Regions from separate parts of the Homo sapiens genome. Here regions 1, 2 and 4 are each linked to region 3. The links are contacts of gene promoters, found by promoter capture Hi-C in blood cells and fetal thymus (Javierre and others, 2016). All regions are on one chromosome and are shown on one strand. The core of a region is centred on a gene start or on the middle of the fragment in contact, and the rest is flanking DNA. Distances in the headings are between cores, read along the strand shown.

Evidence for each region. The method cuts DNA at HindIII sites, captures the fragments that hold promoters and counts their contacts. A CHiCAGO score of 5 or more calls a contact.
Region 1: a fragment that was not itself captured here is called in contact with the fragment with the promoter of PFDN1 in region 3 in 1 of 17 cell types (monocytes); the score reaches 6.1 in monocytes.
Region 2: a contact is called between a fragment that was not itself captured here and the fragment with the promoter of PFDN1 in region 3, in 1 of 17 cell types (fetal thymus). The highest score is 6.0, in fetal thymus.
Region 4: a contact is called between a fragment that was not itself captured here and the fragment with the promoter of PFDN1 in region 3, in 9 of 17 cell types (fetal thymus, naive CD8 T cells, non-activated CD4 T cells and 6 more). The highest score is 12.0, in fetal thymus.

What each region holds. Positions count from the first base shown.
Region 1 is chr5:140,597,551-140,600,250 of GRCh38, reverse strand. It overlaps a transcript of TMCO6 not described here. Among named protein-coding and RNA genes, the nearest start is that of SLC35A4, 34 kb to the right of the region's middle. The HindIII fragment of the contact is 4,151 bases long and covers 1-2,700 here.
Region 2 is chr5:140,686,505-140,689,204 of GRCh38, reverse strand. The region is part of intron 2 of HARS1 (histidyl-tRNA synthetase 1); the gene reads left to right. Among named protein-coding and RNA genes, the nearest start is that of HARS1, 3.5 kb to the left of the region's middle. The HindIII fragment of the contact is 2,465 bases long and covers 172-2,636 here.
Region 3 is chr5:140,301,813-140,304,512 of GRCh38, reverse strand. PFDN1 (prefoldin subunit 1) reads left to right here and starts at 1,412. Exons shown (of 4, transcript NM_002622.5): 1 at 1,412-1,472. The coding sequence starts at 1,440. RefSeq lists a silencer at 1,303-1,507 and an enhancer at 1,396-1,675. The HindIII fragment of the contact is 1,473 bases long and covers 1,012-2,484 here.
Region 4 is chr5:140,706,081-140,708,780 of GRCh38, reverse strand. ZMAT2 (zinc finger matrin-type 2) reads right to left here. Exons shown (of 6, transcript NM_144723.3): 6 at 2,095-2,700. Among named protein-coding and RNA genes, the nearest start is that of ZMAT2, 7.0 kb to the right of the region's middle. The HindIII fragment of the contact is 9,003 bases long and covers 1-2,700 here.

The DNA.
Region 1 (2,700 bases), core at 123-2,622, 300 kb before region 3:
GGACCAGAGAATTCCCATTTGCAGGGAAATTACTTATTTCTTATCAGACATTAAGTAAAACTTCCACTATAACTGAAAGATATAAAATAATCTTAAACATAAAATACCCATAACATTTTGGATGATGTTGGAGAAACCATTCAATGGGGAGAGAAGTGCCTGGAAGAGCTCCATAACAAAATGGAAGTTGTTTCTGATGGAACATACCACTGGGGGAATGCCAGGAGATACCATATTTCCAAGCAGATAGACTTTTTCCCCTAGAATTGACTTTTGAACCACCTGAGGAGCTGCCAGATTTTATTTTATTTTATTTTATTTTATTTTATTTTATATTTTATTTGAGATGGAGCCTTGCTCTGTCACCCAGGCTGGAGTGCAGTGTTGCGATCTTGGCTCACTGCTCACTGTAACCTCCGCCTCCCAGGTTCCAGCGATTCTCCTGCCTCAGCCTCCCGACTAGCTGGGATTACAGGTGTGCACCACCATGCCCAGCTAATTTTTATATTTTTAGTAGAGATGGGGTTTCCCCATGTTGACCAGGTTGGTCTCAAACTCCTGACCTCAGGTGATCCGCCCTCTTCGGCCTCCCAAAGTGCTGGGATTATAGGCGTGAGCCACAGCACCTGGCTGGAGCTGTCAGATTCTACTGCTACCTGGAGAGTGTCCTATAAACAGCAAAGAGCTTCTTGGTTTATAATCGCAGTTCCAAGGTGAATGTGCAGCATCTTGTTTGGAAGGCTAAGAAGGTAAAAACAACTTACCTTATAGGCTATTGCATTCTGTTTGCCACTACATTTGGGTTTTTACTGATTCATGGGTGGTGCATACTGACGTGATCATATGGTCAGGCTGAAGAGCAATAGAAAACTGCCCTCTTAAAGGGATCCCCTAAGAAAATCACTATGGAAATTTGAGGGATAGATTAAAGTAGGACATATCAATGCCCAATAGAAGAATCACTTTCCTGGATTGGAAGGTGATTGGCACCAGTGAGTGAATTTCCCAGTGTGCTCACTTGAGGTGGCCACCTGGGTCCATGGAATGAGTGGACCTAAGAATACTGTGGCAATGTAGAGATCTAGACATATTCCTCTTGCACCCTTTGAAGCACAAAATGCCAACAAGAACTGTTTTGTCTGCCAGCAAGAGAGACAGAGAATGCAGGTGGCCCTGGGGCACATTCCCCCGTTGGAAGGCCTCACACATAGCTGGTAGATAGATTACATTGAACAAATGCTGGCAGCCCTGGGGGCTACAAATGGGGTCTGACAGGAATAGACACTTACTTTGGTTTTTTGGTTTTTTTGTTTTTGAGATGGAGTCTTGGTCTGTCACCCAGGCTGGAGTGCAGTGGTGTGATCTCCGCTCACTGCTACCTCCTCCTCCTGGGTTCAAGTGATTCTCCTGTCTCAGCCTCCCGAGTAGCTGGGATTACAGTCGCCTGCCACCACACCTGACTAATTCTTTTGTAGTTTTAATAGAGACTGGGTTTCACCATGTTGACCAGGCTGGTCTCAAAATTTGACCTCAGGTGATCCATCTGCCTTGGCCTCCCAAAGTGCTGGGATTACGGGCGTAAGCCACTGCACCCGGCCAGGAATAGACACTTACTTTGGACTGGGCTTTGCACACCTAGTGGTAGATACGAATGCTGAAAATACTATTAAATTATTGGAACAAAAGATACTGTACTAATTTGGACCACCAAGTTACATTTCTTCAAACCAAGAGTCACACTTTACAGCCCATGATGTCCAACAGTGGACAAAGAGATATCACATCAAACAGACATACCACGTTGCATTGTCATCCTCAGAGTAGCAGTTTAATAGGGAATTGGAATGAGCACTTGAAACATTCATTGTCTAAAATGAGGTGAGTGAGGGTGCAGTGGCTCATGCCTATAATCCCAGCACTTTGGGAGGACGAGGCGGGAGGATCACTTTAGCGCAAGAGTTCAAAGCTGCAGTGAGATATCATGCCACTGCACTCCAGCCTGGGCAACAAAACAAGAACCTGTCTCTAAAAAAAAAAAACCAAATAAAATAAGAAAATAAAATTTAAAAATCAAGTAAAATGGGGGAGGGGATAAAGTTATGAAGCACTTGTTTAAATGTTTTCATGAGGGTATGCTCACATGCACCATGAGGGGGCCAAGGGAGAATCCCCATTGGAGAGATTCCTCCATTTTTCTAGGAAAATCTAGGGGAGAGGGGTTGAGGGAGGGTGTTGGTATGACTATATGATTCTTGCCCACATCACCTCAACTTTCTTTTTTGCCATCTGATGCAGAGGTTCCAGGACTAGAGATACATCTGCAGGTGCCAGAAGCATAGATAATTCCTAGGCAAGACATTGTAACTATACCTTTAAATCTTTATTTCAGCATTTCTAAGGACCCTATAGGTTAAGTTGTGCCCTCAACCCATCTGGCAAAATTTGAGTTGACAGTAAATGCTGCTGTATCATCCAGTGGCTAAGATAGTCCATTAGTCCTGTAGCTATATAGCCCTAATCTATATAAATTGGAGTGGACTGAAGGGGAGGCACTTGTTAAACTACTATTGTTGCCAGCAATCTGGACTAGCACAGTGGCCTCTCCTAATGTCCCTTCCAAAGGTAGAAAAGTTTGGGTATAAATGAGAGAATGAAGAATAATAGCTGAGGGTATGGAATGAATAACCCAATTAGGGAAAT
Region 2 (2,700 bases), core at 155-2,654, 380 kb before region 3:
AAGGAGAGGGGAGATGGTCTGTTTTCCTTGTGTTAAGGTTAATTCTTTGGGATCCTAAATTCATTGAGCTGTTTCTTTCTACATATAACTAATTTTTGAAGGTTAAAGAGACAGTGTAAAATCCCAAAGTGGTGATCATCAATGATTTTTCAAACTATTAGATGAAAAGCTTACTGTGGAATTTATGATGGATCAGTCTGTCCTCACTAGTGATCAGTTTTAACATCACTAAAAGTAGGACAACTAGACATTATGTTCCTGCTGATGTGATGCAAGAAGAAGTACACAGCACCACCTGGGAAGTATTCTTGCCAAGTAAATTGAACTTGAATCTAATCAGATCTTTGGACTAACTATCAGTTTACAGGAAATACTAGAGATGGAGGAACATGTTAGATGGCACATCAAGCATATTGTTCACCAAATCTAGAATGTGAAAATTTTTTTTTAGGACAAATGGCCCAATTTCCTCAGTTAATAAATGACCTTTTTAAAATAAAAAAAAAAAGTTGGGGAGGGAAGGAAACTATTGTAGATTAAATAGACATATCAGCTGATTACAACGCATAGACTTCATTCTGAAGCTGATTCAAATAAATCAACCATAAAAAGATATTATTGAGGCAACTGGGGAAAACTGACCATGGCTTAGCATTAGATAATATTAAGGAGTTGCTGTTAGTTTTGTTAGTTATAATAAAGATAGAGTCTTTGGGGTTTTTTAAATGTCCGTATGAGTTAGAGATTCATACTGAAGTATTTATGGATGAAATGATATGACGTCTGGGATTTATTTAAAAATATGTAAGAAAAACATGTCAGGGCTTAAATGAAATAAGAATAGCAGATGTTAATGGTTGTTGAAGCTGGGTAATGGATAAATGGTGACCTGTAATACTATTCTCTATATTGTGTCTTTGAAAATTTCCATACTATAGTGTTAAGATTATGCTAGAGAGTTAATATCCATTTTAGTATTAACAATAGAAAACTCAGTATTGTGGGGACAAGACTCTTTCAAGGGATCTTCATGGTCAAAACTATTTCTATAATAATTCTTTTGTTTTGTTTTGTTTTGTTTTGTTTTGTTTTGTTTTGTTTGAGACGGAGTCTTGCTCTGTCGCCCAGGCTGGAGTGCAGTGGCGTGATCTCAGCTCACTGCAACCTCCGCCTCCCGGGTTCAAGCGATTGTCCTGCCTCAGCCTTCCGAGTAGCTGGGACTACAGGGATGTGCCACCGCACCTAGCTAATTTTTTGTATTTTTAGTACAGATGGGGTTTCACCGTGTTGGCTGCGCTGGTCTTGAATTCCTGGCCTCAAGTGATCCTCCCACCTCGGCCTCCTAAAGTGCTGGGATTACAGGCGTGAGCCACTGCGCCTGGCCCTTCTATAATAATTCTAAGACATTATCTGCCTTTTTCGTTGTGTTAACATTTGCACTGAAGGCACAAAAGCGCTGGTGAGTAGAACTGCTGGTGCCTTAGCATACATTAAGACAGTGACACTAAACTGTACTAATAGCCAGTGTGTTCTTCACTGCCATGCACTCACAGTAAGTAAATAAATAAATTAATTAATTAATTAATTTAAAAAATTCAGTTTTACTTAACTATGTCATTGATAAAATGGTAAAACTTTGTTTGTTTTGGGGTTTCTTTGGAGACAGAATCTCACTCTGTTGCCCAGGCTGGAGTTCAGTGTCACGATCTTGGCTCACTGCAGCCTCCACTTCCCGGGTTCAAGCAATTATTGTGCCTCAGCCTCCTGAGTATCTGGGATTACAGGCGGGTACCACCACATGCAGCTAATTTTTTGTATTTTTACAGAAATACAAAAAACATACAAGAAACCTACAACATGTTTCACCATGTTGCCCAGGCTGGTTTGGAACTCTTGAGCTCAGGCAATCTGCCCACCTTGGCCTCCCAAAGTGCTAGGCTGAGCCACCATGCCTGGCCAAAAACTTACTGATTTTATTGAATCTTGACCCTTGAGGACCCTATTTTTAAATATTTGCTATGACAAAATGGGAAGTACACATAAAGCACTTCTGCACGCCAAGGTAGGGAAAATGCTTATGCCATTGTTCAAGTTGCAAGCTGATCTAGCTACTTTTTTCATAGAACATCTTGTTTTATTTGAATTAACAACTGAAAGATAAATTATGGTTTTTCAAACTTAAATATTTGGCAGACATTTTTACAACAATAAACGAAGTGAGCCTCGTCACCTCAAGGAAAACATCTGACAGTACTTGTAGGCAGTGAAAAAATTCAAGTATTCAGGTGAAAGTTAGAATTTTAGAAAACTTAGTCAGGGCATGGTGGCTCAAGCCTATAATCCCAGCACTTTGGGAGACCAAGGCGGGCGGATCACCTGAGGTCGGGAGTTTGAGACCAACCTGACCAACATAGAGAAACCCCATCTCTACTAAAAATTAGCTGGGCGTGGTGGCGCATGCTTGTAATGCCAGCTACTAGGGAAGCTAAGGCACAAGAATCGCTTGAACCTGGGAAGCAGAGGTTGTGGTGAGCCGAGATCGCGTCATTGCACTCCAGCCTAGGCAACGAGTGAAACTACATCTCAAAAAAAAAAAAAAAAGAATTTTAGAAAACTTGCATCTTCCATCATAAGCTTGACAGCTTCCCAATAATTAAAGAGTTTTCTACTGGGTGTGGTGGCTTACGCCTGTAATCCCAG
Region 3 (2,700 bases), core at 163-2,662:
AGGCAGGAGAATCACTTGATCCTGGGAGGCAGAGGTTGCAGTGAGCCGAGATCGTGCCACTGCATTCCAGCCTGGGTGACAGAGCGAGACCCTGGCTCAAAAAAAAAAAAAAAAAAAAAATGTGGCCGGGTGCGGTGGCTCAAGCCTTTAATATCAAAGCACTACAGCACTTTGGGCGACCAAGGCGAGCGGATTGTTTGAGCTCAGGAGTTTGAGACCAGCTTGGGCAACAAGGTGAAAACCCGTCTGTACAAAAATATAAAAATTAGCTGAGTGTGGGTGGCGCGCGCCTGTAGTCCCAGCGCTACTCACGAGGCTGAGGTGGGAGGATCGCTTGAGCGCGGGAGGTAGAGGCTGGAGTGAGTCGTGATTGCACCATTGCACTCGAGCCTGGGTGACAGAGCAAGATCCTGTCTCAAGAAACAAACAAACGTACAAAAAAAAAAAAAAACCCCACAAAATATCCAAGTGACTTGCTTAAAGTCACACAATTAGTAAATGGAACCAGACATAGGCTAAAGGCAGACCAAGCCTTGAATCTAGATTAGGCTGGTTCCAAATTCCCTGCCCTTTCATCTCCCTAACAGTTTGTTTTCTTTCTCTCTTTCTTTCTTTTTTTAAAAAATAAAATAAATTTCCTAATTATTTATGTAGCACTTTCTCTTAGCATAACAGTTTTTAGAGTAGGTTAACTTTTTTTTCCATTTCCAAAAGTCAATTATTATCTATTCTGGTTCAAATGCCAGGTCCTTTTATGGCAGAGATTCTCAAAAAAGTGATCCGCGGAGGAGTTGCACCATTAGGTCACTGGGGTAGTCTGCAAAAGTGCAAATTTCCAGACCCCATTCTCAAAGATTCTGAGTACGTTTGAGATGAGACCCAGAGAACCTGCATTTTTTTGTTTTTAAACAAACGTATTCAGCCTCTCTTGAGAACCACTGTGCCTAGAATGTCTTTGGGAAGCTTTTGGAAGTAATAAGTTCGTTTTGGAAAGAACACTCCAGACAAGCTTTCCAATAGTCTTTCCCAAACTGTCATGCCTGAGGTTCTGGACTTACTCTTACTCATTCCTGAGAGCACAGCGACTAGCTGAAGGACTGATCGACTGATGAGGGTTTGACCTCATCTACATACATCTCAATTTAGCAGCACATATTAAGCTAGCTGGCAAACTGCTTAAAGCCACATGGGAAATCTGCGCGTTGGGCTATGTCTGGAAGATACGGAGGAGCAAGCCAGACCTGACCGGTCAGGTAGTGAAGACACGGAATCCGAAACCCAAATATTTCAGGAGTCAATTCTCAGAGAAAGATAAGAAGCCCGGTTAGTCCAACTCATGCGCAGGCGCAGAAGAAAGACCGGCGCACAAAGTAAGACGCGCCCTTCCCCACCCTATTTCAGTCCAACTCCCACTGCGCAGGCGCTTACAGTGCACCAAGATGGCCGCCCCCGTGGATCTAGAGCTGAAGAAGGTAAAAGAGGGTCTTTGGCAGGCGGAGGTCTTCTTTTTGGAGGCTGAGGGGACTATAGACAAGAATATCAAGTGAGGCACGAGCCTTGCAGAAGGAAGGAGGGTCCAGTGGACTAGGGAATGGTTTCCCAGAGTCCTAAGGCCTCACTGGGTCTCCATAAACGGGGTGGGGGGCGAGCGGCTCTTGCTGGGTAGGAGCCGGTTGGTCTGGGTCGGGTAAGTCTGCGGGCCTGTCTCGGGCTTGTCCAGTCTTTCTGAGCTCCAGAGACATTTCGTTGCGTTTGGAGGCTTCAGGGACTCACTTTCATAGTAAGAACTAAAGAGAGCATTTCAAATGGGGGTCCCTTCGGACCCCTTGCCTGAGCTGTGGCATCCGTAATTCTGCCTCATTTGCTTTGAAAAACTCCAAGTCCAACCTTTGTTTTTAGGCCATTTATTCGGTTCTGTACCTTGAAAGTTGCAATATCTACAGTTCGGAAAACCAAGCATTGTAGCAGCAATGTTCATTTCAGGATTTTGCCCCCCCTCCACTTCTTTTGAAGGACTCGTCAAACAAAACAAAACAAAACCTCCTTCTTTTGAAGGAATTGTCAAAAACAAAACAAAACCAGTAAAGTTTTCCAAATAAAACCGGTATCGGAAGGAATTGGGTTTCCTGTTTTCCTCAGTTGCTTATAAATGTGTTGTTATTCAGATTTTTGCTATCTAAGAATGATCAGCATTCTAACACCACTAATGACCCCAAACCAGTATGCTTTGTGCGGTGGGGTGGATTGGAAAGGACCCTAGAATTTATCTATTTTAAATCTACTTTTCTGGAAAAGGAACCAGTGCCAGAAAAGTCTGTCAGAAGTTGGGACTAGAATCCAGTATTCTCTGCCTTATCTCACACTTTTTTGACCACTATTTTGAGTTCTTCAGATGAGCAACATCTTAGTTAAGACTGCCTGTGGTCAACTTGTGTAAAAGAAATAGGACAGCCGAAATAGCTGTTGCTTCTAACAAATGAAGCTTTTGTTAGTGTTGTGAGGATATTATGTGTTTGTGTCTTGCTTTTGTTCTTCTTGTCTTGAATCTTGTAAATTTAGCTCTTAGGTGGAGTCTCTAATCTTTAACAGTATACTAGCTCATCTTTAATGGTATACTAGCTTCCTTAGCAAGCTGTATAGAGCAGTCAGATGATACCTGGAATTTTACATTTCAAAACAAAATTGTGCATTCTAAAAATT
Region 4 (2,700 bases), core at 40-2,539, 400 kb before region 3:
TACTCGGGAGGCTGAGGCAGCAGAATGGCATGAACCAGGAAGGTGGAGCTTGCAGTGAGCCGAGATAGCGCCACTGCACTTCAGCCTGGGCAACAGAGCGACTGTCTCAAAAAAGACCTGAAAGCAGCTTCTCTTTGAGATTTCTGAGTTATCTGGGATTGCTGTGGGCTCTTGAATTTCCATTCCATTTACTTTTCCAAGATGCCACCCTGAGCACCTCCAGACACTCCATGACTTAGGTCCCTTTGAGACTCAAACCACTTAACCAGTCCCAAGAGTTTAAAGATTCTTAAATTCAGAATTGCTTTTTAGATGCAACCAGAGGTAAGATCCCACTGTACCAAAAAGGGAAAGACATTCTTTGAAGCTAAATTGAACTAGATGGTTTCCTGAAGAATGAAGCCAGGGGTGGTGGCTCATGCCTGTAATCCTAGCACTTGGGGAGGCCGAGGAGGGCTATCACTTGAGGTCAGGAGTTCAAGACCAGCTGGCCAACACGGTGAAACGCCATCTCTTCTAAAAATACAAAAAAATTAGCTGGGGATAGTGGCGGCCACCTGTAATCCCAGCTATTCAGGACGCTGAGGCAGGAGAATCACTTGAACCTGGGAGGTGGAGGTTGCAGTGAGCTGAGATCGTGCCACCGTACTCTAACCTGAGTGACAGTGACACTCTCAAAAAAAAAAAAAAAAAAAAAAAAAAACTGAACCATGGAAGGAACTCACAAACCTCCAGCCTGCCTTGAAAGGGGTAACAAAATACCTAGTCAACAAGAAGACTGTCACCCAAGGGACCTGAAGTGCACATAATCCTGCCAAGGAAAGCACGCACCAATCTGCCCCCAGTTGCCCAGTACTTACTGTATCTAAAACTGAGCCAGGCCTTCAGCCCATAGGTGAAGATACATTCAGTGTTCCCAGTGGCAAGATTCAGCATCAGAAATTAGACAAAGGGCATGTCTTACAGTAAGGGAATTTTGTACAAAAGTCCAAAGGGAGGTGTATGGTGCTTTGTGGTTCAGATAATACAGAAAGTTGAGGAGCTTGATGGGGCAGAGAATGAAAACCAGCTATATGGTGGCAGCCTTGTTAACCCAAACAGATTCATTTACAGGTCCATTTTTTCAGGGTATAGAACCAGCAAGTTACAGGCTTCATCTGCTTGAAGTTAATGTGACTGTAGTTCTTCGTGTATGTATGGCTATTTTTTTCTTCTGCATCCCCTTGACTTGGCATAGTACTTGATCCAGTGGATATCAAAGTTTTGTGAGTTTCTGTTTTGAGTTTGCCAGTCTGTGCCATCTAATTCTCAAATCAGACCAAGGTAGGGAAGACAGCTAGCTTCTTCTTAGTGGTCTTCAATGTGGGTAGGGAGGGATTTTGCCTTTCTCAGAGGCATAGACATTTTTAGTTGTCACAATTGTGGAAGAGGGTGCTACTGGCATCTAGCAGGTAGAGTCCAGGGATGAAGTTAATCCTAAATCAAAATCAAAATAATAAACATCCTACAATGCCAGCATTGGTTTCTACAACAAATGATAATCTGGCCCAAAATCTCAACAGTGCCAAAATTAAGTAATTCTGTGTCTAGCAGACAGTAAGAAAAACACTAAGGGCCAGGTGCAGTGGCTCACGCCTGTAATCCCAGCACTTTGGGAGGCCGAGGCAGGTGGATCACCTGAGGTCAGGGGTTTGAGACCAGCCTAGCCAACATGGTGAAACCCCATCTCTACTAAAAATACAATATTAGCCACTTGAAGCCAGGAGGCGGAGGTTGCAGTGAGCCAAGATTACGCCACTGCACTCCAGACTGGGCGATAGAGCAAGACTGTCTCAAAAAAAAGAAAAAAAAAAAAGAAAAAACATTATGTTCAATCCTGAGCTCTGCTGTTCCAAAAACAAAAGATCAAAGGAGTCTGAAATGATAGGAATCGTTTTGGTTCAGACTTCTCTGGACATAGATCCCTTATCAGACGAAAACATAACTCATGCTAAAAAAAAACCTAGGCAAAAATAAGATTTAAAATGGAAGAATAAAATACTCTATATGGAAATCCTCAGCATGAGAAGGAAAAACAAATATTCACAGGGAAGATTATGGAATGTTCTCACCAAATGTAAAACAGGCCCAGTCAATGCCATTTATTATACATGTCAAACAGCTTCTAAGACCGACGGGCTCCCATAATAAGGTTTTGGGGATTTTTTGTTTTGTTTTTCATTTTCTTTTTTGCATCAAACAGGTTCTTCCAAAAGCCTGCTCACAAGGTAGACAAAAACATAAATCTTCAGGAAAATGAAACATGAGAAGCTGAAACAATCTACACCTGAATGTTAAAAAACTCATCAGACACAAACCACACCAAACACTCATCCCATTTAATTTCCTGTTACATGCTCTGAGGAAGCCAAGAACATCAGGCCCCAGGGCAGCAATGCTCTAGGATTCCAGCTCGGACCCCCTCTATATGACAGATTCATGCACACACATCCACACACCATAGAACCAGGCAGAAATACACATGCATGCACAGGTGGCTAGAGAACCATAGGGCAGGATGGGAAAAAGGGCTGATCAAGGATATGCAATCAACTGGAAACTGGGACCTAGAGAATGCTTCTGTTGCAGGATGAACATGAGTTAAAATTAAAACAAAGGCAGAACACAGGATAAAGGTGGGATGTTCAGACAAGAGGTGGG